Regions from separate parts of the Homo sapiens genome. Here regions 2, 3 and 4 are each linked to region 1. Evidence: promoter capture Hi-C in 16 types of primary human blood cells and fetal thymus (Javierre and others, 2016). All regions are on one chromosome and are shown on one strand. The core of a region is centred on a gene start or on the middle of the fragment in contact, and the rest is flanking DNA. Distances in the headings are between cores, read along the strand shown. Region 1 holds the start of SASH3 (SAM and SH3 domain containing 3). Region 2 overlaps BCORL1 (BCL6 corepressor like 1). Region 3 overlaps AIFM1 (apoptosis inducing factor mitochondria associated 1). Region 4 overlaps ELF4 (E74 like ETS transcription factor 4).

Region 1 (4,500 bases), core at 1,629-4,128:
GCAAGGACCTGGCCTATTGGGATTCAGCCAGGGCAATCTGTTGGAAGAGAAAAGCTGGGGGAAGGCAAGTCCCGATGGGGGGTCCTGGACACCCCGCCTCCACTGGCCCCGGTCCCCAGGTGGCGGGGAGGAGGTGTTCCTGAACAGAGGAGACAGATCTGAAAAGGAGAACGAAGGAAGCCGTTGAAAACACTTGCTCCCTTCTGTCCTGGGAGCTGGTCACCTCTCCATATTTCTCTCCAAGGCACCCTCACCTCCCTCTCGCTGCCTTTTCCCAAGCCTCGCCAGCCCTGTGCCCTGGTTTGCTGGCCGCCTTTGAAGGTTCTGCGGTTAGTGTGTGATCTTCTGTCGCTGCCGGCGCTGAGCAAACAGGAAGCGGGCACATCCTGCGAGGCGGCCAGGGACGCAGCCGCTGCGCAGGCCCGGAAGATTCTGCGACCTGCTTCCTCCCTCACGGCTCTGGCTCCAGGTGCCCCAGGCCACTACAGCGGCGTCCCCAATCCCAGAACCCTCTGGGGCTGCCCTCCTGCTCCTGGTCACGCAGAGCCCCAAAGGCCCGATGGGTCCCCTACACGGCTGCCAGGCTACTGTATATGCCGAAAAGCCTTAACCAGTTACCGCGCTTGCTAGTGACCCTGGGCCGCCTGGGAGGGACTTTCAGGGTGGAAAACACAGGCCAGTGGGAAGGAGATCTGGGGTGTGGAATCTTTTCATGAGTCTGCCTGGCCGACTGAGTAGGCCAAAGAATGTATGGTTTCAGCTTAGGGAAGAAAGATCTTATCTTCCCTGAGCTCACCCTGAAGGTTGGATGGTCAGAGGGCATAAAGCAGAATCGGAGAGGAAGTCACGAGAACATCTTGGGAACAGGGGTGGACAAGCCTAGTATTTCACAAGTACCACAGAATTGAAAGCCTTAAAAATGTGCATACCTTTGACCCCAGCAATTCCTCTTCTGGATATTTCCCCTACAGAAAAAAAACTATGGATGTGAATATTTACCATAAGTATGTTCAATGAATAATTTAAAAATTTAAGCCAACCCAAGTTCATCAGCAAGGGCTTGGTGAAATAAGCACGGCACATCCACACAATGGGATGTTCCACAGCCGTTATAAATTACGTAGTTGAAGACTATTTCATAGCATGAGACAATCTTGATACTGTGTTCAGCTGGACGTAGTGGCTCACGCCTGTAATCCCAGCACTTTGGGAGGATGAGGCAAAGAGGTCACTTGAGACCAGGAGTTCAAGACCAGCCTGGGCAACATGGTGAAACCCTGTCTCTACAAAAAATACAAAAATTAACCAGGGTGGTGGTACGCACCTATAGTCCCAGCTACTTGGGAGGCAGAGGCACAAGAATTGCTTGAACTCAGGAGGTGGAGGTTGCAGTGAGCCGAGATCACGCCACTGCACTCCAGCCTGGGAGACAGAGTGAGAGACTCCATCTCGAAAAAAAAACAAAAAAGATACTGTGTTTAGTGTGAAAAGCAGACACCAATAGTGTGAATTATGACCTTTTTTAATTAAAAAATTTTAAACAGCTTTATTGAGGTATAATGGAGCTACAATAAACTGCACATATTTGAAGTATACAATTTGATACGTTTTGACATGTGTATTCCCCCATGAAATCATCACCACAGTCAAGATAGTGAACATATTCATCACTCCTAAAAGCTTCCTGTTACCCTGTGTGATGTCTCCCTTCCCTTCTCTCCCCTCCCCTTCTCCCCAAACCAATTATCTGTTTTCTGAGCAGTATGATTTTTGTAAAAAGAAAAAAAATGTTTATAGACAGAGAGTAGATAGATGCTTAAAACAGTGTAGAGGACAATGATGGGAAATTTTGAAATTTTTTTTGTTTATGTGTTTGTGAAATTGTATGACAAATACAAGTTGCTTTTGTAATACCAAGAAGTTATTAAAGTTATTAAAATCTGCCACAGACAACCCACAAATTGAATATACTGCATAGGTGTTTGATAAATGCCTGTTGGATACTTGCTAGAGGTGTGGAGTTGGCTGTAAGTGCTTTTCAGCTGTGGTGGTGATAAATATACTCATGATGGCTGAGGGGTACTGACTGGAGGGGTGACTGCTCTAGTGATGATGGCTTTAGGTGTACTGATGGCTGTAGGAGTGATGGCTGCAGGGCTGATGGCTGCACGGATGTGATGATGGTTGTAGGAGAGATGACTGTAGGGACGATGGTTATAGGGGTGAGAGGGTCATGAGTGCGGTTGGCTGTAATGTCCAGAAGGGTGACAGCTGTAAGGATGATGGCTGGAAGGGTGATAGCAGCAATGGTGATGACTGTAGAGGTGATGGCTGAAGGATGTCAACTGTAGAGGTGATTACCATAGTGACAATGGCTATAGGTGTGCTGATGGCAGCGGGGATGGCTGCAGGCCTGATGGCTGTAGGGGTGATGGCTGTATGGTGATGGCTATTGATAGGAGTGATGGTAGCAGTGGTGATGGTCACAGGGGTGATGGTAGTGGTAGTGATGGCAGTGACGACCTTGAAGACGTGAGTTGACCGGGAGCATTGATCCAACAGGCAGCCAGATGGTCCAACTTCTGGTTTCTGGATTCTGGTCAGTGAGATAAAGGGCTTGGGTACGCCATATAATGTCGAGCTGATTGTCCACCTCTAGGAAGATGGAGCAGAAGGACTGATGATGATCGACATGAGACAACAAGGTAGGGACTTTCTCTGACTGTTCAACCCAAGAGCCGTCTGCATCAGAATCTCTGGAGACTGAAGCTTGGACTTCCTTCCTCCCTAGGGGCCGGCAGGGGCTGCGATTGCTGTAAGAGTAGGTCACGTGGCAGGGCTTCCTGTATGCTGCTGCTGCCGGGTGTCCATGGCCCGCACCCCCAAGCTGCCACTGCAGCAGTCAGAGTGGCAGCTGAAGGCTCGGTTCATGCCGTGCCCCCGGGCAGTTCTGGTGAGGCTAAGCAAGAGGCCTCTGCATCTTGACACCTAGGAGAGCAGGGACGGAGTCTCCCAGGGTGGAGGACCATGCTGCGCCGCAAGCCCTCCAATGCCAGTGAGAAGGAGCCCACTCAGAAGAAAAAGGTGAGGAGCATTTTGGGAACTCACATCTTCCTTTCCTCTGCTTGCTCGACCCATCCCTTCCAAGACTCTTGGAAGTGGGAAGAGCCAAAGGCCATATGTTGAGTCTGTAGGTGAGGGCCACTCACCTAGAAGGCAACGGGACAGGGACCCAAAGGTTAACAGAAGTACAGAAGAGATGTTTAAAATTCTGGAGCAACAGAGTTACAGAATAGATCCTTAGAAATCTAGAGTCATGCAATTCAACCCTAGAAGAATGGGAAAAAAGATCTAAAATTAGGGGCCAGAATCTTAGACTAGAATTTGAGAATAACAAAATACAATGCTTAAGCTGAACCCTAAGCTTGTACTTAACTATCTCTCCTCTACGCTGGTCCTGCTGCCACTTCTGCCCCGGCCACGGCCTCTCAGGAGCCATCTCACTCAAAGGGCCCTGCTGGGCTGCCCAGCTTGGAGCCATGATGCTCACAGGACTGCCACCCCCTCCTCCACTTTGGCCATGGCCCAGACCCTGCCCACTTGGCTCAGCTCTGTGGTAGCTCCCAGGCCCTACCCGAGATGGAGCCAACCTGGAGATGGGGGCCTGAGGCCATTCCAGTCTTGGGGGAAAAGGCATCCGGAAGTGCAGTGGGATGCAGGGGGCATACAGGTTCTTCCTGGGTGGGGAATGAGAAATTAAGTTGAGGTGGTGAGTAGGAGTGAAGGCTGAGGAGGGAGGATTTTAAAGGCCAGGAGGAAAAACAGCTGTCATGGATGGCTGAGGTGTTCATCCCCCTGGGGCAGAGACCGGACTGGAAGAATCCTTGAAGGCTGTGCCAGATCTAGGATTTTGTGGTTGAATTTGAGGATTTCCAGATTTCTTTGGTTGGGTTTGAGGATTTCTAGACCTAATTCTTTAATTCAATTGAAGGATTCTCCCAGACAATCAGCAAGTATATCCTACACATCCAATGGGATGCTAGGACAGTCCCAAAGCAGGCCTGAACTAGGTCCAAGAGGCCCAGGCTATCCCCCGCCAATTTTCCCTGGAACTCAGCCCAGGTGCCCTATGGTGGATCCCCCTTGTCAGGGGAGTAGCTCAGAGATGGAGGCCAAGGCAGCTGAAAGACTGAGACTCGGGGCAGTGGGGTGTGCATCCTGCCCCAGCTCTCAGGTCCTGGGGTGGCTGCCACTTCCGGCTGTATTCTCCCCACCCCAGCTGCTTCTCTAAGGTTGCAGTGGTGGTGGGCGGGGGAGGGGGGAGGTTCATGAATCTTCACACGGGCTCTGTCATCCCCGTCCAAACCCTGCAGGGTGCTAGGCCCAGCAGGACTGCCATTGGCTGCCACTCCTAAGAGAGCAGGGCCACTTCCCCTTGCTCTCTGGCTGGTGGGGGTGGGAAACAGAGATTGCTCTATAGACACTGCTAGGCCTCAAACC
Region 2 (4,843 bases), core at 668-3,167, 260 kb after region 1:
GGATCACAGTGGAACCCCTGGGATGCTTCCCGAAGCTTCATTCTTTACAGCCCTTGCCTGTGGGAACTGTGATGTTCCCTCTGCATCCCAGGGTCCCCCTTCCTTCCGTTCCTTTTCCTCCCTCACCTGCCCCTTCTGTAAAGTGTCTGGTGTTGAGGCCCATGGCAAGGGCCACAAGCCAACATGCATTTATTTTCTCATTAGTGGATAGCAGCTGTTTGTCTGCAGTTAGATAGCTCTACTGAGTTGGGCAGGGGGAGGAGGGAAGGAGGGGAGTCTAGCTTGGGCATGCTCAGTAGGAATCTCCTCAGACTTGACCTCTGAATAAAGGAACCCTGCCTCTTAGTGACATCACAGTTTGGCCCTTGCTCTAGCAGTGACTTCTTCAGACTGCCTGAGCGGCGGAGCAGCTGGGAGTTGTATCTCTGAACCTTCTTGGAGGCTGCAGTGTTTGTATTGTGGTTAGAACCCCTCTCTGGCCAGGAGCCAACAGGACTAAGGATTGGCCCAAAGCTGCTCCCTCTTCTCACCCAGACTTTGGCCCTAGTTAGCCCCGAACCTCTATACCTCCAGATATATGGTTCCAGGCTCCCAACCAGGGGCTCATTTGTTTATCCAACAAAGGTTAACTAAGTAGCTGATGATGGAGGAAGAAACAAAGGGGACCTAACTAAAGGCTCTTATGGAAGGGGAGGACTAGGTAGGCGGTGAGTGGGGGGTAATAGGAGGCTGTCGCGGGAGATCTTGACTCCTGCTCAGCCAGCCTCCACCCAGGTCTCAGCTGAGCTGACTAAACCTTGGAGCACAGGCCTTAGGCCTGTACAGCCTGACTAGCATCTCCCAGGCTGGGGGCAGGATGGCTGCCTTTTCTGTTTTCCCTCCCTCCAGCTCTGGGTTCCCAAGCCCCTGTCCTTGAGGCGCAGAGCAGCCTTGGAATGTTCATTCAGTCATTTGTCCTGGGCCAGTGGTGACTGTTGTTCCCCTTAGCTGAACCATCCCTAGGGGTGCAGGGCTTGGGGCAAGCCACCGTTGGTAGCTGCCTCCCACGTACTGTGTACACATGCACTCTCTCTTAGACACATACACGTGTTATCTGCACTCCACTGGATTCCCAGGAAAATCTGAGACCAACAAGCATCCAGAGCATCTTGATATGACAAAGGCACCACACGCAGCTCTGTCTTTGAGAAACCGGTCTAGTCCCGAGGCCTCCTTAGGCTAGAAACTGCCATCCCGAGGGTCTCAGGGGCTCCTAGATCTAAATAACACTGTGACCACCTTAGTAAACAGATGAACTCTTTGCTTCCCCAATCCCTTCTCCAAAACCCCTAAGGAGTAGGAATGTGGAAACCATTTTAAGTAGTTAAAAAATGGGAAATAGGCCAGGCGCAGTGGCTTATGCCTGTGATCCCAGCACTTTGGGAGGCTCAGGTAGGAGAATTGCTTCCGGCCAGGAGTTTGAGACCAGCCTGGGCAACATACGGAGACCTTGTCTCTACAAAAAAATTTAAAAATTAGCCAGGTATGGTGACTGCACTCCAGCCTGGGCAACAGAGTGAGACAGTGTCTCAAAAAAAAAAAAAAAAAAAAAAGAGACAGAGAGGAGAGAAATAAACACGTTTCTCTTATCTTTCTGTCTCCTCATCCCAACTACTAGCTATCTTTTGGTTTTGTTTTGTTTTTGGCGCGATCTTGGCTCACTGCAACCTCTGCCTCCCGGGTTCAAGCGATTCTCATTCCTCAGCCTCCTGAGTAGCTGGGATTACAGGCATTCGCCACTATGCCCGGCTAATTTTTGAATTTTTAGTAGAGACAGGGTTTTGCCATGTTGGCCAGGCTGGTCTCGAACTTCTGCTAGCCAGCTTTTTGACACCTCCTGAAACTAAATTGAATGCCAGTCTATGTTGCAGAATTCAGAGAAGACTTTTATTTTTTTTAGGCGGAGTCTTGCTCTGTCGCCAAGGCTCGAGTGCAGTGGCGTGATCTCAGCTCACTGCAACCTCCACCTCTCGGGTTCACACCATTCTCCTGCCTCAGCCTCCCAAGGAGCTGGGACTACAGGCACCCGCCACCAAGCTCGGCTAATTTTTGTGTATTTTTAATAGAGACGGGGTTTCACCATGTTAGCCAGGATGGTCTCGATCTCCTGACCTCGTGATCCGCCCGCCTCGGCCTCCCAAAGTGCTGGAATTACAGGCGTGAGCCACCGCGCCCGGCCCCAGAGAAGACTTTTCTTAACTCTAGTACTTCACATATTTGTGGTGTGTGTGTGTATGTACGTATATGTGTTTATATATATTTGAGACAGAGTCTTGCTGTGTTGCCCAGGCTAGAGACTCCAGCACTTCCTAACTTGTCCTGGCTGAGCACCTTTATTTAGATTTGTTAAAAATTACTAGAGACAGTGTCTTGCTCTGTCACCGAGGCTGGAGTGCAGTGGTACAATCATAGCTCAGTGCAGTTTCAAACTCCTGGGCTCAAGCAATCCTCCTGCCTCAGCCTCCCAAGTAGCTAGGACCACGGGTGTGTGCCACCGGTCCCAGCTAATTTTGTATTTTATCTTTTTGTTGAGATACGGGGTTTGCTATGTTGCCCAGGCTGGTCTGGAACTCCTGGGCTCAAGCTATCTTCCCGCCTTGGCCTCCCAAAGTGCTGGAATTACAAGTGTGAGCCACCATGCCCAGTCTTCATTTAGACCTTTTGCTCAATTTATGGGCATGAATCAGGCTTAATAATGGGAGTCAGGAGCCAATGGGTTGCTATAAAGTGCACCAGCTCTTTTCCATGCAAAGGCAGCCTGGGACCTTGGCCTACCACCACAGGAAGGCAGGCACTGGCAGGAGTCAGCAGGCTCTCAAGAAGCAGGGGGCCCTTAGGCCCAAAGGCTGTTTGTAGGGTGTGTGAGAGGACAGCACTCAGGGACTTTTTTAAAAATTGAGGTAAAATTTACCTAACATAATCATTTTAAAGTGAACAATTCGGGCCAGGCGTGGTGGCTCACCCCTGTAATCCCAGCACTTTGGGAGGCCAAGGTGGGTGGATCACTTGAGGTCAGGAACTGGAGACCAGCCTGACCAACATGGTGAAACCCCCTCTCTACTAAAAATACAAAAGTTAGCTGGACCGTGGTGGTGCATGCCTGTAATCCCAGCTACTCGGGAGGCTGAGGCAGGAGAATTGCTTGAACCCAGGAGGTGGAGTTTGCAGTGAGCTGAGATCACACCACTGCACTCCAGCCTGGGCGACAGAGCGAGACTCCGTCTCAAAAAATTAATTAATTAAAAAAAATAAAGTGAACAATTCAGTGGGATTTAGTACATTCTCTTTTTTTTTTTTTTTTTCCTGAGACAAATCTCACTGTTACCCAGGCTGGAATGCAGTTGCATGATCTCAGCTCACTGCAACCTCTGCCTCCCAGGTTCAAGTGATTCTCCTGCCTCAGCTTCCCGAGTAGCTATGACTATAGGTGTGCACCACTGTGCCTGGCTAATTTTATATTTTTAATAGAGGTAGGTTTCACCATGTTGGCCAGGCTGGTCTCCAACTCCTGACCTCAAGTGATCCGCCTCCCTTGGCCTCCCAAAGTGCTGGGATTACAGGCATGAGCTACCGCTCCTGGCCCATTTAGTACATTCCTAATGTTGTGCAGCCAACCTCAGGGGCTGTTTGGATGCCTTGAACTGAGTGTTTGGCTCTCATTTTTCATGCCTGTGTGCCTCCCTGCCAAATCTCCAGGAACCACTGGGTAGGTTGGTAGGGTGGCTGCAGGAAGCACCCGAGTGTGGAGACTGGAGGCTGGGGAAGCTTTTCCCTCCACTGCTCTGCCTCCTCAGCCCCTACACCTAGATACATTTACATGGACTTCTGATTTATTTATTTATTTTTGAGACGGAGTCTCGCTCTGTCGCCAGGCTGGAGTGCAATGGCGCAATCTTGGCTCACCGCAACCTCCGCCTCCCAGGTTCAAGTGATTCTTTTGTCTCAGCCTCCCCACTAGCTGGGACTACAGGCGCCCGCCACCATGCCCAGCTAATTTGTTATATATATATATATATATATATATATATATATATATATTTTTTTTTTTTTTTTTTTTTGAGACGGAGGCTGGAATGCAGTGGCAGGATCTCGGCTCACTGCAAGCTCTGCCTCCCTGGTTCACGCCATTCTCCTGCCTCAGCCTCCGGAGTAGCTGGGACTACAGTCGCCCGCCACCATGCCCGGCTAATTTTTTTTGTATTTTTAGTAGAGACAGGGTTTCACCGTGTTAGCCAGGATGGTCTCGATCTCCTGGCCTCGTGATCCGCTCGCCTCGGCCTCCCAAAGTGCTGGGATTACAGGCGTGAGCCACCACGCCTGGACATTTGTTGTATTTTTAGTAGAGACGGGGTTCACCATGTTGGCCAGGATGGTCTTGATCTCTTGACTCTCGTGATCTACCCGCCTCAGCCTCCCAAAGTGCTGGGATTACAGGTGTGAGCCACCGCGCCCAGCCTGATTTTAATTTTTTTACTTTGCTGTCTGGCTGAGGTATTTAAAATGCTTTTGGCTTTTTGTCCCCAAGCATTTGCTTGACTAGACCCTCTGTTGATTAATTGTCTTCATCTTCCCCTAGTGGAGTCCAGCTGGGCAGAAAATGAAGGAGAATCCCTTTAGGGTGCACAGGGCTCCATTTTTGGCGGGAGGAAAAGGTGAGCATTAGCGTCAGGGTTATGCCTCATGTAGCGCTTCCCTGGCTGTGTGCAAAGGCCCCTGTTGTGGAAAGTTGTCGGGGGAATCAAATCCTTTTCTCTTTTTTCTTTAATTTTTTTTTTTTTTAAGATGGAGTCTCGATCTTGTCGCC
Region 3 (4,832 bases), core at 2,287-4,786, 360 kb after region 1:
TATGTTGTCCGGGTTGCTGAGACAAAACTGACATGGACCTTGACTATGAGGAGCATACAACCTAGTACAGAAAGATACAGCCTTGCTCACAACTACAGAGCAATGTAAACAGTAGTGTGCCATATGAGAGGTACAGATTAAAGGAGTCAAGTATTTCAAGCAGAGGGCGAGAACCTCCAGCCGGGGGTGAACTGGACCAGCTTCATGAAGGATGTGGCATTTGAGCTCTCTAACCCTTTGTTCATCTTTGTGGCTATTTAGACTCCCCCAAAGCAACCTAAAAATCCAACGAGTGAGCAACCGTAAACTGTGAAATTCGCTTAATGGAATATATAGTCATTAAACTGTTTACAAAGTCTGAAGCAACATAGAAAATGCTTACATTTATGGTGTTAAGTGGAAAAGAGCAGAATATTATATATAGTATGCTTGCCACGAATAAAACAAACCAACAATAAAACCTACATGCAAGGAAACACAGGGAAGGAAATACACCAAAATATTAATGGTTGCTGCAGGTGACTTTCCTCTCCTCTCTCCTTCTTGTCTGTCTTCTACATTGACCACATATTACTTTTTTTTTTTTTTTGAGACTGAGTCTTGCTCTGTTGTTGCCCAGGCTGGAGGGCAGTGGCATGATCTCCACTCACTGCAGCCTCTGCCTCCTTAGTTCAAGTGATTCTCCTGCCTCACTCAGCCTCCCAAGTAGCTGGGATTACAGGCCTGTGCCACCACACCCGGCTAATTTTTGTATTTTTAGGAGAGACAGGGTTTCACCATGTTAGCCAGGCTGGTCTCAAACTCCTGATCTCAAGTGATCCACCTGCCTCAGCCTCCCAAAGTGCTGGGATTACAGGTGTAAGCCACTTCTCCTGGCCCACGTATTACTTTTATAACAGGTTAAAAAGATCCAGTACATCTTTTTTTTTTTAAAAAAAAAAAAAAAAACAAGGTTTGGAGGGGGAAAAAAATTCCTCCAAGGTACCTACGTCCTTAGTTGCAGAGTCCATAAACAAACACAATACACTTGTAACTAGCAATGGGGAAATTACCTCATGGTTCCTACATACTATAGTCTTGTTTATGTCATAATAGATTGTAAAAAACAGCTAAAAATAGTACTCAAGGAAAATGAAAACAGAGTAATTTTCCTTTCTAGGGAACAGGTTATAACATTGCTTCATCCTCCATCCTCCGGATTCAAGTTTGAGCAAAGGGAACAGCAGATCCATCTGAAGGCTTATGTGCATGCCCACCAGGGGTTATGCCAGTAGCTGCTGCCAATAAGTAGAACCGGAAGAGCTCTACCCCTGCAGGCATGCACACTGTTCATTTCATCTGCCACTAGCTTGCAGATGAGGCCATACCTGGTCTTCTGAATCAAGCAGTTCACACATTTCTATTCTGTACCCTCAGCCTCCAAACACTCTGACCCTATTTGGTTAGGCTGTTGATGAGCTTTAGCACACCACCGGGCAGACTTGTTCACAGGCTAGGGAGAATGAATTATGCCTGGTCATGCTGTAGCACACTTACCACCCAGATGTTAGAGCGTGCTTGTAGCTCTGCATTTACCCGGAAGCCACCAAAATCTGAGTCTATTTCCAGGCCACCAGTCTTGGCCAACTCAACATTGGGCTCCAGGCCCACAGCTGCCACTATGTGGTCAGTTTCTACCTGAGGCAAAAAAGAAATAATTCAGTCAATTACCACAGTTTCCATTTATGCCTACAGGCGTAACAATGGCCCTTCATGCCATTAAGAATTGGGACTTTAAAAAATCATGGGTTAACTTACCTCTGATAAATGGATTTTAAGTTCTATTTCATAAGCCTCCACCACCCCATCCCATGCACATCCCCCATGTCATTCGAACAGAAATCTGCCACCCTAGCCAGGACTCAAAACTCTGTGAGACAGATAGAATGGGGCTAAGGGAAAGTGGTTCACAGGAGCCTACTCTGGCTCTCATCATTCTGTTTTAATGGAGGGATGGTTAATTCGGAAAATTATATCAGGTTAATGGCAACTGCCAGGAAAACTAATCTACTGGTGTCAAATGAAGGAGTAAAAATGAGGCAAGGGGAGTGGAGAACTGGAAGGCCTCTTGGCAGACTATCTTTTCCTTCCTTACCTTCCTGCCGTCTTTCAGCTTGATAAGTAACTTGCCACTGCTGACTCCAACGGATTGCACAATAGCATTGGGCATCACCTTAACCCCCTCTGTAAAGGCAAACAAGACCTGAGAGTGAGCCTACAAGGCTATCACTTTCATGGGAAGTAGGAAAGCTGACCAGCGGTCTCCTCCACGGTAAAACCAATTATCAGTACACAGGCAGTTTTGGAGAGCTGCAAGAACCTACACCCATGGTTCATTTTCAGCACTTCCAGGAATTTGGGGCATCTGATTCAGAACACCTAGATGAACTTAGCTGACTGGAGAATGGTGGAAACATTTTACAGGCCAGGTGATAGGGCTTATGTCAAGGGGGTTCCTATAGAAGCGAAGTTTGCCTTAGGTCACACTCAAAGGAAATAGAGTGGCAGCATATAGAAACAGTCTCTCTACCTCGTCTGACTTTTTCCATGGTCCAGTTGCTGAGGTATTCGGGGAGGATCTTTCCCATATTTCCTTTCTCGGGGAAGAGTTGAATCACTTCTGTGCCCAAGGCTCGAGCTGGGAAGAAGAAACAGAGTAGTTACAGCAGGAAGCAAAAGTCAATCCTAGGAATACAGGAAGAGAAGTAAAGGAGCAGCAGGCAGCCCTCACTACAGACAGGGCAGAGCTGCAATCCAGGCCGAGCGCCCACTTACAGGACAGTGGGCATGAGGGCCTCGGTGCTCAAGTTCATTTGTAACGCAAATACAACAGGTATCAGAACTGCTGGCCCCAGATTAAGCTTCAGATGGTGAACTCTGTGCACTTCCACCCATGCAGTCACCTAAGGCTTACATAAGTGCTTTGCAACCTCTGAATAGGAAGCATCCTCCTGAAAAGATGCCCTGATTTCATATATCTGAAAAAGAACATTAAGAAAACTAGTTGCCATGAAACATTCCAACTGGAGCTCACAGATCTCTCAAGCTGGGAACCATCATGTGCCCAAAGAAGTTTTTGGCATTTTACAGGAAGCAGCAGTTCAAAGACACCCATAATTCTGTAGTCTGCATTGCCCTTATCATCTTCATAACTCACTTTCCTTAATATTTTATTTCTAAGGAGTCCTGGCATAGAGGGTAGAGGAAAAGAAAGGAAAGAAAGTATTGCTGTTGGCCAGGTGCAGTGACTCACACCTATAATCCCAGCACTTTGGGTGGCCGAGGTGGGTGGATCACCTGAGGTTGGGAGTTCAAGACCAGCCTGACCAACATGGAGAAACCCTGTCTCTACCAAAAATACAAAATTAGCCAGGTGTGGTGGTGCATGCCTGTAATCCCAGCTACTCCAGAGGCTGAGACAGGAGAATCGCTTGAACCTGGGAGGCGGAGGTTGTGGTGAGCAGAGATCACACCATTGCACTCCAGCCTGGGCAACAAGAGTGAAACTCCATCTCAAAAAAAAAAAAAAAAAAGCATCGCTGTTAAGTTGCTCAGGTGACAGCTTTTTGGTCACCAAGGGATCCCTCACCAGAACTAATCTCAGTGTTTAGCTTTTCACTATATAAACCTTAATTAGGCTGGGTGTGGTGGCTCACGCCTGTAATCCCAGCACTTTGGGAGGCCAAGGTGGGCGGATCACCAGGTCAGGAGATCGAGACAGTCCTGGCTAACACGGTGAAACCCCATCTCTACTAAAAATACAAAAAATTAGCCAGGCGTGGTTACAGGCGCCTGTAGTCCCAGCTACTCGGGAGGCTGAGGCAGGAGAATGGCCTGAACCCGGGAAGCGGAGCTTGCAGTGAGCCGAGATCGCGCCACTGCACTCCAGCCTGGGTGACAGAGCGAGACTCCATCTCAAAAAAAAATAAATAAATAAACCTTAATTAAACTCTTCCTACTGATCCTGCCAAACACATCTCTGGGATTCACAGAAAAGCTATATAAGACTAGAGAAAGAAAATCAAGGTCACTCCTCAATACTCACCCTTTCTGCCAAGAGCACAGGCCAGTTCGCTACCAAGGAAGCCCCCACCGATAATCGTAATTGATTTGACTTCCCGTGAAATCTTCTCCAAGCTTCTAAAGTCTCCAATCTGCAGGATCACATCAGTTTAGTCCATTAATTTCCAAAAGGGGCATAGGATAATAATACTAGAAAGTAGTTTCTTCTAAATCTTTGGCAAAAGTAAATTTTCTCCTTGTATAAAGTGACTCAATTATAACTTCTATGTTATTAATGCAAATTTATTTCTTCATGGTAAAATTCCTTCTATAAACAGTGGTTCTCAATTGGTGGCAGTTTTGTCCCTATCTTCCCCAGGAGGACATCTGGCAATATCTGAAGACATTTTTGGTTGTCAGGGCAAGTAGGTGCTCCCAGCATTTAGTGTGCAGAGGCCAGGATGCTGCTAACATACTACAATGGCATAAGACAGCCCCCACTACAATTATCCAGCTCAAAATGCCAATACTGCAGAGGCTGACAAGCCTTGTTCTAGGAAGAACTTAAAAGACAGTACACAGCCTGGCCAACAGGGTAAAACGTCCCTACTAAAAATACAAAAAAAAAAAAAATTAGCCGGTCGTGGTGGCACATGCCTGTAATTCTAGCTACTTGGAAGGCTGAGGCACAAGAATCGCTTGAACCCGGGAGGCGGAGGTTGCAGTGAGCCAAGATCGCACCACCGCACTCCAGCCTGGGTGATAGAGCGAGATTCAGTCTCGAAAAAAAA
Region 4 (4,994 bases), core at 736-3,235, 280 kb after region 1:
TGATGCCTAGTTGATACTTTAAAAAGTAGAAATGCAGGAATTAGAGGTGGCAGGGAAGAGTGTTTGAACTGAGAGGACAATCTGAGCAAAGGCTTGGATACAAGGGGAGTTAAAAGCAAAACCAAACAGCAGATTGTTTTATTGCTTTTGGGGTTCTTTGCCCACGGCTTACCTGGAGTCCCACTGCCCTTCTGCCAGGTTGGAAAGATCAAGGCAGGAAGTATGGGCCGTGGCATTAAATCTACATCCCCGGTCAGGATTGGGGTGAGGATGGCTTGGTGGCCTCTTATTAAATGATCTCCCAGTCCTTTTAGTATGGTGTAGAGGAAAGAGCCAGCACCACTCCTAACTACCTAGGCTGACCTTGGGCGAGAACCTAATCTTTCCCAGCCTTAATTGCTCCATCAGCCAAATGGAGGCCAATGTACCCACCTACTGACAGAGCATCACACTGAGGACCATAAAGATCTGTTTAGCCAAAATTAGTTCCTCCTTCATGCCGAGCTCACGAACCTATGGTTAATGAGGGTCTTATCAGAACGCTCTTTGGGCTTGAAAGAGAGGCTCTGTTCAAGTCTTGGTGGGAGGAGGGATAGTCTCCGCATCCCTATTTGGGGTAGGTGGGGTTGGGGGCGGTGGTGAATGGGGCAGTAAACTCCTGCTCGGTCCATACTCTAACCCAATAACCGGGAGGCCTGGTGGGTGTTTAACTGTGTCCTGCCCATGCAAAGACCAGTGTGTGTGTGTTTGGGAAGGGTGGGGTCCGCCCCAGGGGCGTCTGCTCAACTGCTGGGCAGGGGGACGCGAAGTGCTCGGGCCTTCTGGATCCCGCAGCAGGATCCGGGCCGGGGCTCCACTCGTTTCCCTAGCGCTCCGGCTGCCACCGCGCGGGGGTCGGCCGAGCCGCAGCGTCCGGCCTCTGGGGGCGACGTCTTTAGGCCCCGCGCCGGTCCTTGGGAGCCGGGCTCGTGCGGCGGACGGTCAGGTCCCTCCGCTAGCAAACGGCTGTCTGGGGCGCCTCGATCGCTCTCCCGCTTCACGGTAGAAGGCGGCGGCGCGCGAGGGGAGGGGAGGGCAGGCCGGGTGACTGCGACTCCGCGTGCTCACCTGCTGGTCCGCGAGGCTGAGGGAGGGGGCGCCGGGGGCGGGGCCAGAGCGCGGCTGGCCAATGGGGGAGCGCATTCGGCGGCCGGCTAAATTCCCCCTGGAAAGTGAAGGGGGCTGGGGTCGAGGGGAAAGTTCGAAGCTCCGGAGCAGCGGAGGGCTTTGGTGGCGGCCAGAACCATCCGGGGACAGTTGCAGGCGCAGGGGCAAGATCGGGGGACCGGAAGACGCCAGCCGCGGCCGCGGCCGCCTCCGCCAGGGACGGTAGGCCCAACCCTGGCTGCCCCTCCCTTCCCGGGCCCCGCCGGGCCACTCTCCCGCCATCGCTGGCTCGACAGCGCCACCTGCTGGACGTCGGCCTCCACGTCCGGCGCGCCGGGGCCCGAAGTTCTCGGAGGCTGGGACCTCAGTCTGGGAGGGGAAGGAGCTCACTCACCCCAGGTCCAGCGGCTTCAGAGCTGGAGGCAACTGCCTCTTTTGGAGTACAAGATGGGATCAGAAAGGCCTGTGACCGTCAGAATAACTTCTTGTCCCGCCCCACCCACCGGAGCTGACACTTCCACCGCACAGCCCCACCCAGGGGTGAGGAAATAGTGGCGAGGCAGTCCCTGGAAGCGGGCAGCAGCAAAGGGCGGGAGTTCGGGAGTTGCACGTGGCACCTGGTGACAGCAACGCACAGCTGGCAAGCAGCCCTGGGCTCCTCATGGACCCTGTGATCCGGGGATGTCTGTTAACACTCCAGGGGCAAAGGAAGTAGCCGCCTGCAGTGTTATAGGAGCGGGCAGAAAGCTGCCTTAGCTCCCAAGTGTGGATTGTCCTCCTCCCTCTCCTCTTGCCTGCCATAGCATAGGGCAGAAGTCTCAGAATTAAAATCAGGACCAGTTCCTTCTTTCAATAAGCATTTATTAAGAACCTACTGTGTGCTAGGCACTAGGGATATATCAGTGACTAACACACAGTCCCTGTCCTTGAGGAGCTCACAGCCTATTGGCGGGGAACCCTACATAAACACGTAATTAAAGAACTGTACTGTGCTAAGTGCTACCATAAGAGGTATTTACAAAGTGCTGTGAGGTGGCTCAGGGCTGTAATCCCAGCACCTTGGGAGGCTGAGGTGGGCGGATCACTTGAGGTCAAGAGTTCGAGACCAGCCTGGCTAACATGGTGAAACCCGTTCTCTACTAAAAATACAAAAATTAGCCGGGCGTGGTGGCACGCAGCTGTAGTCACAGCTACTTGGGAGGCTGAGGCAGGAGAACCGCTTGAACTCGGGAGGCAGAGGCTGCAGTGACCCAAGATCGCACCACTGCGCTCCAGCCTGGGCAACGGAGGGAGACTCTATCTCAAAAAAATAAAGAAAACAAAGTGCTGTGGGAACCCAGAGGAGGGAGTAACATATCAGCTGCTGGGAGATGAGGGTCATCTCTTGACTCCTGACTCCATTAAACCAAGAAAAGGCAGAGACTTACTGCCACATGACTCTGGTTAAAATGAACCTGTCTCCTGAGGTTCTCCTCTAGCCCTCTCCCATAACTGTATCAGCACAGGTTAATTGGTTTAGCTAGTTTCACACTTGGAGTAGGAAAGAAACTGGACAGGGAAGTTGCTTTAGGGGTAGAGGATGTTCAAAATAGTAACAAATTTTGAGTGCTAAGATGGGGGGGTGGGGTTGGGGATACCATGAGGGCACTGAGCCAGGGAGGGCAGGCCCAGAGCAGTGGAGCACCTGGGGTGAGTGCCTGTGCAGAGGGGAGGTCAGAGGTCACCTACCTCAAAGTTTGGTCCCCATCTCCCACCGGCTCCATCAGTAACCATTACCTTGATCCTTTGTACTGTGCCATGTTACGTGGTTGATACAGTCCCTCCCACTCCTCAAGGAGGTAATGTGCTAATTGGGGACACTAAATAGGTACAGGTCATTGAAGATTTAAGTAACAGTTTGCATTATAATAGATGTCACAGGGTGTTCATGATCAGTTGCTGAAAGAGTGGCAATTGCAATAAGTTTTAAATAACTCACTTAGGACAGACTGGTCTGGGGAGGCAGAGTCCATGAATCGAGTCTTGAAGGAGGGACACAATTTAATTGGTACTAGCAGGATAGGAAGGACATTCTGATTGAGTGGAACCAATCAGATCTTGAAGGATGGATTGTACTTTTTTTCTTTTCTTTTTTTTTTTTTTTTTTTTTGAGACAGTCTTGCTTTGATCACCCAGGTACAATCTCGACTCACTGCAAATTCCACCTCCAGGTTCAAGGGATTCTCTGCCTCAGCCTCCCCAGTAGCTGGGATTATAGGTGCGTGCCACCAAGCCCGGTTAATTTTTGTATTTTTAGTAGAGATGGGGTTTCGCCATATTGGCCATGTTGGTCTCCAACTCCTGACCTCAGGTGATCCGCCCACCTCAGCTTCCCAAAGTGCTGGGATCACAGGCGTGAGCCACTGTGCCTGGCTGTGGATGGATTTTCTTTCTTTCCTTTTCGTTTCTTTTTTTTTTTTTTTTTTTTTTCAAGATGGAGTCTCACTCTGTCGCCAGGCTGGAGTGCAGTGGCGCGATCTCGGCTCATTGCAACCTCTGCCTCCCGGGTTGAAGTGTTTCTCCTGCCTCAGCCTCCCGAGTAGCTGGGACTACAGGCACACACCACCATGCCCAGCTAATTTTTGTATTTTTAGTGGAGACGGGGTTTCACCATGTTGGCCAGGATGATCTCGATCTCTTGACCTCGTGATCTGCCTGCCTCGGCCTCACAAAGTGCTCGGATTACAGGCATGAGCCACCGCGCATGGCCAATGGATTGTATTTCTAAAGGAAAAGATACATAGAAGGGAAGAATATTCATTAAGAAAACACAGGAGTGTGTAAATAATGTTGAGTTTGTCTGTATTGCCTAGAGCAGGTAAAAGATAAATGGAGGATCTTGGTTTCCAGGTTTAAAATGCTTAGAATATATGTAGTAGATAATAAGAGCAAAAGCACAGAGTTTGGAAATTGTAAACAGAGGCATGTTCACAGGCCAGCAAATCCATCAGTTTGACTGGAGCAGTGCCTTGGGGTATGAGTGGTGGCAGAAGGAGCAGGGTGAGTTGACTGGGGAAGTCAGTTAAGACCCAAAGGTGAAGGGTCTTGATGGCAGGCCAAGGACTTGGGGCTTTGTCCTGAAGACAGGGCTGATGCTAAGCTTAAAATACTTCCGGAGCTACTGCCCTGAGCCCAAGTGCTCCCCCATCCCTATTCCAGGACCCCTGGACTGGCTTCAGCAACGAAAGGGCTAAGTTTAGAAAGGATTAGAGATTAAGTATTTTGAGTATCACCCCTACCTGTAGGCCAGGAGGAGTCAGTGAGGGCTTTTTATCAAAGGGCAAATGGGAGGGGTTGAGACAGATCACGCTGGGAGCCCCTGTGTGTCTTGGGTAGTTTGAACTAGGGTGGAGGCTTCTGGGAATGTGGAAGAAAGGCGAGGTTTTACGGACATTGCAAACCACAAGCTGGACTTCGGGAGACGGGAGAGGGGGATGGGGGTGAAGTGAAGGCAACGATCAGACAGCTCTGAAATTTCAAATTTAAGAGGTCAGGAAAACAGTGGCACCATTAACAGAAATAGGCAAGTCGTGACGGCCTTTTTGTTTGCTTGATTTTTATTATTATTATTATTATTATTATTATTATTATTATTATACTTTAAGTTCTGGGATACATGTGCAGAACGTGCAGGTTTGTTACATAGGTATACATGTGCCATGGTGGTTTGCTGCACCCATCAACCCGTCATCTTGGAAAGGTTTTTTGTGAGCGTGGAAATAATTTAAAAATCCATTGTTGGCCAGCCGTGGTTGCTCACGCCTGTAATCCCAGCACTTTGGGAGGCCAAGGTGGGTGGATCACCTGAG

Evidence for each region. Contacts are between HindIII fragments. The CHiCAGO score rates a contact against its expected background, and 5 or more counts as called.
Region 2: a fragment that was not itself captured here is called in contact with the fragment with the promoter of SASH3 in region 1 in 2 of 17 cell types (M0 macrophages and M2 macrophages); the score reaches 6.1 in M0 macrophages.
Region 3: a fragment that was not itself captured here is called in contact with the fragment with the promoter of SASH3 in region 1 in 1 of 17 cell types (M0 macrophages); the score reaches 5.7 in M0 macrophages.
Region 4: a fragment that was not itself captured here is called in contact with the fragment with the promoter of SASH3 in region 1 in 11 of 17 cell types (non-activated CD4 T cells, M0 macrophages, M1 macrophages and 8 more); the score reaches 13.3 in non-activated CD4 T cells.

What each region holds. Positions count from the first base shown.
Region 1 is chrX:129,777,071-129,781,570 of GRCh38, forward strand. SASH3 (SAM and SH3 domain containing 3) reads left to right here and starts at 2,879. Exons shown (of 8, transcript NM_018990.4): 1 at 2,879-3,084. The coding sequence starts at 3,028. It overlaps LOC124905215 (a long non-coding RNA gene), which reads right to left. Exons shown (of 2, transcript XR_007068328.1): 2 at 1,505-3,209. RefSeq lists enhancers at 2,630-2,789, 3,040-3,119, 3,170-3,229, 4,497-4,500. The HindIII fragment of the contact is 655 bases long and covers 2,768-3,422 here.
Region 2 is chrX:130,039,709-130,044,551 of GRCh38, forward strand. The region is part of intron 11 of BCORL1 (BCL6 corepressor like 1); the gene reads left to right. Among named protein-coding and RNA genes, the nearest start is that of BCORL1, 59 kb to the left of the region's middle. The HindIII fragment of the contact is 3,769 bases long and covers 34-3,802 here.
Region 3 is chrX:130,134,509-130,139,340 of GRCh38, forward strand. It overlaps AIFM1 (apoptosis inducing factor mitochondria associated 1), which reads right to left. Exons shown (of 16, transcript NM_004208.4): 9 at 4,085-4,193; 10 at 2,570-2,677; 11 at 2,135-2,223; 12 at 1,537-1,677. It also overlaps a transcript of RAB33A not described here. Among named protein-coding and RNA genes, the nearest start is that of ELF4, 26 kb to the left of the region's middle. The HindIII fragment of the contact is 1,276 bases long and covers 2,899-4,174 here.
Region 4 is chrX:130,059,231-130,064,224 of GRCh38, forward strand. It overlaps ELF4 (E74 like ETS transcription factor 4), which reads right to left. Exons shown (of 9, transcript NM_001421.4): 9 at 4,725-4,994. Among named protein-coding and RNA genes, the nearest start is that of ELF4, 49 kb to the right of the region's middle. RefSeq lists silencers at 999-1,258, 1,279-1,578, 1,599-1,668. The HindIII fragment of the contact is 4,596 bases long and covers 1-4,283 here.